Regions from separate parts of the Homo sapiens genome. Here region 2 is linked to region 1. Evidence: promoter capture Hi-C in 16 types of primary human blood cells and fetal thymus (Javierre and others, 2016). All regions are on one chromosome and are shown on one strand. Each heading gives the region's core, a stretch centred on a gene start or on the middle of the fragment in contact. The rest is flanking DNA. Distances are from core to core; before and after follow the strand shown.

Evidence for each region. The method cuts DNA at HindIII sites, captures the fragments that hold promoters and counts their contacts. A CHiCAGO score of 5 or more calls a contact.
Region 2: a contact is called between a fragment that was not itself captured here and the fragment with the promoter of CCN4 in region 1, in 8 of 17 cell types (naive CD4 T cells, naive CD8 T cells, activated CD4 T cells and 5 more). The highest score is 8.6, in naive CD4 T cells.

The regions. Positions count from the first base shown.
Region 1 is chr8:133,189,752-133,192,451 of GRCh38, reverse strand. CCN4 (cellular communication network factor 4) reads right to left here and starts at 1,413. Exons shown (of 5, transcript NM_003882.4): 1 at 1,239-1,413. The coding sequence starts at 1,307. RefSeq lists a silencer at 294-541. The HindIII fragment of the contact is 13,274 bases long and covers 1-2,700 here.
Region 2 is chr8:133,431,546-133,434,245 of GRCh38, reverse strand. No RefSeq gene overlaps it. Among named protein-coding and RNA genes, the nearest start is that of NDRG1, 140 kb to the right of the region's middle. The HindIII fragment of the contact is 1,559 bases long and covers 671-2,229 here.

The DNA of each region.
Region 1 (2,700 bases), core at 164-2,663:
ATAACTTTCTGGTAAGGTGGTTCTGAACCAACTATAGTCAGGCACCATGCCAGGCGTGAGGATTTAACCAAGATGAAACAGACCCACTCCCCGCCATCATTACACACACCGAGGCATTGAGAGGAATTCCTATTTCCCAGGTCTCAGTTTGCTGTCGGCTCTCGGCCTCAGTTCTGGCTGAAGCAGACCTAGAGTCTGATTCTGGCAAGTGGTTTAACCCCAACACACGGTTTCCTTATCTGTGAAGGGGGCTTCTTAACCCCCAAGGAAGCCATCAGTGTCATTTGGGGATAAACACTCTTTTGCCATCACCCCTCCGTCTCTAGGCTGTTCTGCCAGGAGCAGGTCCTGCCCTGGGCTGTGGAATCTGGGGCTCAGAAGCTGCCAGGTACCCACCTCCTGCCCTCCTTGCACTGCCTGCCTCTGCCTTTTCCTCACCATGCCTGGCCCTAGCAGGCTGGCTCTACACGGTCACATATGTGACTCCCCTGGCTTTTGGAGGTGCAGACCTTTGTCCCTTCCCCTTGGTGTACCCTGGGGTGCAGGTGGAAGAGAGAGAGACTCTGGGGTGCCCACATCACCCCCACCCTGGAACAGCAGGCTTCATAGGCAGGACCCAAGTATGGACACTCTGCAGACTGCAGAGGGCTGTGCAGACCGGAGGTGACAGCAGTTGGGGTTAGACATCACCCTGAGCACTGTTTGCTCAATAAGGAGCTTTTGTTGAAAGCTGGCATTTTTCTTTCCAATTTTTTTTGGCTTTTTCCATCTCCCATCTTCGCAGCATCTCCAATGCTTGGAGTCTTGGAGTTTTCAAACTCAGAGACTCTAGAAGTCACCTAACAACTTCGTCGCTTTACGCTGCTCCTGGAGGGTGAGTGACCCACCCGAGGCCACACAGCCAGGTTAGGCGAAGACGGGTCTGGAGCCCGGGCCCCTGACTCCCAGTTCTGCTGAGGGCCCCGTTCTTTCTGCACTGTTTCAGGTGGGGAGAGAGGGCAGGCTGGACCTGTGCAGTTTGTTTCCCCAAGTGTCGCACCGTCCTCCTCACCCTGCCAGCTTCAGCCAACCTGGGCAGCTGACTCCTCACCCTGGGCTCTGTCCTTGCCCTGTAAGTGGCCACCTTCCAGCCCCAAACCTTCCTGGCCCTTTTCATCCTGCCCACCAGCCCCCATGTAGCAGGACCCAGTAGAGAAGGGAGCTGGGTCTCCCTCTGAGCCCCTCCAGGCAGGACTCACCGTGGCCAGGACGGTGCTGGCGGCTGCTGCTGTCACTGCTGCCAGCGTCCAGGGCAGGAACCACCTCATGCCTGGACGTCAGTGGCACAGGCATCGACCGAGCAGCCCAGAGGATCCGACCACCTCTCGGGGGAGCTGGGCCCAGACTGGCCGGCCCATCAGGAGCACCAGATATGCCTCTTCCGCAGCCCTTGGGGGGTTTTATTAAAGCAAGATCTGACGTCAGGGTGAAGGACAAACCCTGCATTTTCCTCTGAAAAAACTTTTCCTGCCTCTCTCTCTTTTTTTTTTTTCTTTCTTCCCTCTGTCCCCACCTCCAGCCTGAGCTTGGCCAGCCTCCCCAGCTCTGACAGTTCTTAAAGGGAAAGTTACAAGGCTATGACTTCACACTAGGGTGTGAAATTCTCACAGAGGAGCTGGGGTCATCCTGCCTAGGTCTTTCACTACTGTAGGGAGGGGGGAGCATGGGAGGGTGCAGGATGTCCGAGGAGATACTGTTACCCCAGGCAGGCGGGTGTGTGGGCTTTGAGAGGGCTCCCAGTGGGAAATCAACTCCCTGTCATTTCTTCAGGCTGCTCCTACTTCTGGTTTTCTTTTTCCTTTTCTTTTTCTTTTTCTTTTCTTTTCTTTTTTTTTTTTTTTTTTTTTTTTTTTGAGACAGAGTCTCGCTCTGTCGGCCAGGCTGGAGTGCAGTGGCGCGATCTCTGCTCACTGCAACCTCTGTCTCCCAGGCTCAAGCAATTCTCCTGCCTCAGCCTCCTGAATAGCTGAGATTACAGGCATGTGCCACCACACCCAGCTGATTTTTGTATTTTTAGTAGAGACGAGGTTTCACCATGTTGGCCAGGCTGGTCTCAAACTCCTGACCTCAGGTAATCCGCCCACATCAGCCTCCCAAAGTGCTGGGATTACAGGCGTGAGGCATTGCGCCCAACCCTACTTCTGGTTTTCATTTGCCCTCTTGCACTCCCCTCTACCTAGCTGCAAGCGAAAGAGGTGGCTTTCAGTCCACCCATCTAGAGATGATAGGAATTCACAAATAAAATGAGCTCTGAGGCTCAGGTTACAGCATCACCTTCATGACACGTGAAAGCCACGGTAACGCATTTGCTGTTTGCCGTCTCTGCTCATTGGTCAGAAGCCGTTTGGTGCTGGAGCTGTCCCCACGTGTCTCTGGATGCTTGCTATCCCTGGGGGGTTGGGTTTCCTGGCCTGTACCCTTATTGCACTGCTGCCACTGAGTCTCTTCCTTGGGCAAGAAAGGAGATGGGATGTCTTCTATGGGCTGTCCTAGTCCAGCCCTGTGCTCCCCATGGGGACCGCTGCCACAGCCTCCTGACTGATACCCAGCCTCCCTGCCCACCTTCTACCATCCACACATCTCAGAGCAATCCTTGAACTAGCGTCATGTATAGATCATCTTCTGGATACAACTGTCCAAAGCCTGCCCATCACACAGCAC
Region 2 (2,700 bases), core at 201-2,700, 240 kb before region 1:
AGTGGCTGCACCTCCTCCCTGGTCCCAGCCTCTGCCAGGCAGCCCCTCCTGGGGTTCTAGCTCTATTAACCCTGGGATGCTAACACCGCATCCTCCAGCCCCAGCAAAGGAAGCTTCCTGCTGTTCTAACCTCTCAGTTGTCTCAATGTCCTCCTTGTGAGTAGGGTTACCAAAATTAGCAAATAGAAACACAGGAAGCCCAGTTAAATTTGCATTTCAGATAAACAACAAACCTATTTCCAAATATTACACGGGACATACAGTTTCATGTAAAAAAAATCATTGTTTATCCGAAATGCAAATTTAACTGGCAATTCTGTATTTTATCTGGCAACCCTACATAAAAGGCTTCTCAGTTCTTCCAATACCATTGAACCTAATTCTCTGGATTAAATTTCCTCTATTAAACTTTCAGTAGAAGCTCTTTGATTGCTGGATCCTACTTGCTACAGATGCTGAGTTCAATGTGAGCCAATGCATATTTCTGGAATCCTCAGATTATTCCCTATTCCAGCCTTCTACTCACCTTCCCACTCCCCATGAGTTCAAAGAAGAATACGGAATTTAAAACCAACATTCATTAAGCGTCTTATGTGCAAAGTACTAAAAAACTTGGCAGAGATAAAACACTTTGTTATCTTAATTGCTGGCATCAGAGCACCTCCAAGCTTTGTTTAAGAAAATACCTTCACAAGCCACTTGGGGTAGAATGTGAGACCCTGAGGGCAGGGACTGAGACAACGAAAGAACCGACTGCACAGCTCTGCTGAGGAAAATGAAGGGAATTTTTTCTTTGCCTCTGAGAGAGCAGGGAAGAGATGTTCCTGTTGATATATTGCTGTGGAGCAAAGATCCTAAAACTTAGTGACATAAAACAACTATTTTATTGTGCTCACGAATTCTGTGGGTCAGGAACTGGGACAGTGCATGGCAGGGGTGGCTCGCCTCTGCTCCAGGGTGTCTGGGACCTCAACTGGGAAGACTCAACCAATTGGGGTGACTCAATAGCAGGCACCTCGGGCCTGCTATTTTCGGTTTTTACAGATGGCACTTTTGGTTTTTACAGATGGGGCTTCATTCAGGGCTGGTGACCAGAGCATCTGTCACAACCTCTCCAGGTGATCAAGACTTCCTCACAGTACTGTGGCTCAGGGGAGTCGAACCTCTCACCTGTCAGCTCAGGTTTCCAAAAGCAGCGTCCAGTGGAGGAGGTGGAAGCTGCTTTGCAGGGAACATAATTACTCTCTCCATGCCCTGCTGGGGTGGAGCCGTCGCAGGCTGAGTAGTCCAGGGGCGAGGCAGAAACTGCCACTCTGGTTGGGAGCATGGCAGAGTTACATGGTAGAAGAGCATGTGAGATGGGATATATGGTTGCAACTTTTGTTGAGTCAAAAAGCATAATATGGAATAGAGGAGAGGCAGAAGAAGAAGAGGAAACCCAGAAAACTAGCATGCCATTAGAACAAAATGTGGAGGGAATGGCAGTGAAAACAGCCTGGGCGAGATAAGAGGTGGCCCTAGACATTTAAAAATGGGTCATTGCTGAGCATTGTTGTTCATGCCTGGGATCCCAGTACTTTGGGAGAGTAAGACAGGAGGACTGCTTGGGCCCAGGAGTTTGAGACCAGCCTGGGCAACGTCGTGAGACTCTATCTCCAAAAAGAAAAAAAAATAGCCAGGTGTGGTGGTCTGCACCTGAGGTCCCAGATGCTCAGGAGGCTGAGATGGAAGAATGGCTGAGACCAGGAGATCAAGCCCACAGTGAGTGGTAATGGTGTCACTACACTCCAGCTTGGGTAATAGAGGGAGACCCTGTCTTAGGAAATAAATACATAAACAAAGTAAAAAAAAAAAATAGGTTGTTGCATGTGTAGACATAGCTATGGAGTGAAGGCTCTCCTCTGCCTTCCACCTTTAGCCAAGGATCCTGCACACACACAAAGGCCTTGGGATGCTGTGTGTGTGTGTGTGTGTGTGTGTGTGTGTGTGTGTGTGTGTGTCAGTCACAGAAAGGGATGGAGTCTTATGCCTGACTTATCATAATGTAAATAAAGATGGAATGATGACACTGAAAATTAATGAATTCAACAGGAAGAAAAGCAAAGTGCCAGAACCCTGAGCCCTTGAACCCAAGTCCTCAGAAATGAGCAGACACTTGAGGTGGGCTTTGGATCTCCATAGAACATAGAACTCCATAGAACATTCATTTATTCATTCATTCAGCAAGCTTTGGTTGTGCACCAGAGACTGTGCTAGTTGCTGAGGCATCAATAGGGGCAAAAATAGCCAGGGACTGGCTTCATGGAGGTTCTACTTTAGTAGGAAAAGACTGGCAATACAACAGTAAGAAAATATAATACAAATAAAAATGTCAGGTTGGCTGACACCTGCAAAATCTCAGTGGCTTAACACAATGAAAATACATTTTTTTTCCTCAGACAGAAACTCAATATGGGGGTTTATTAGGAGGTCTTCCTTGATGTGGGGGTACAGGCTCCACTATCTCATGACTCCACAATTGGCTAAGAACATCTAGTCCTCACTGAATTCTCTGTGCCTGCCCTTACAGACAGGAGTAGAGAGAGCACAGAGGACAATGTGGAAGATTTTTTTCAAACCAGTACTCAAAACAGACCACACTACTCTCACCCACATACCATTGACTGGGGCATCGTCATAAAGCCACCCACACCTCACTGC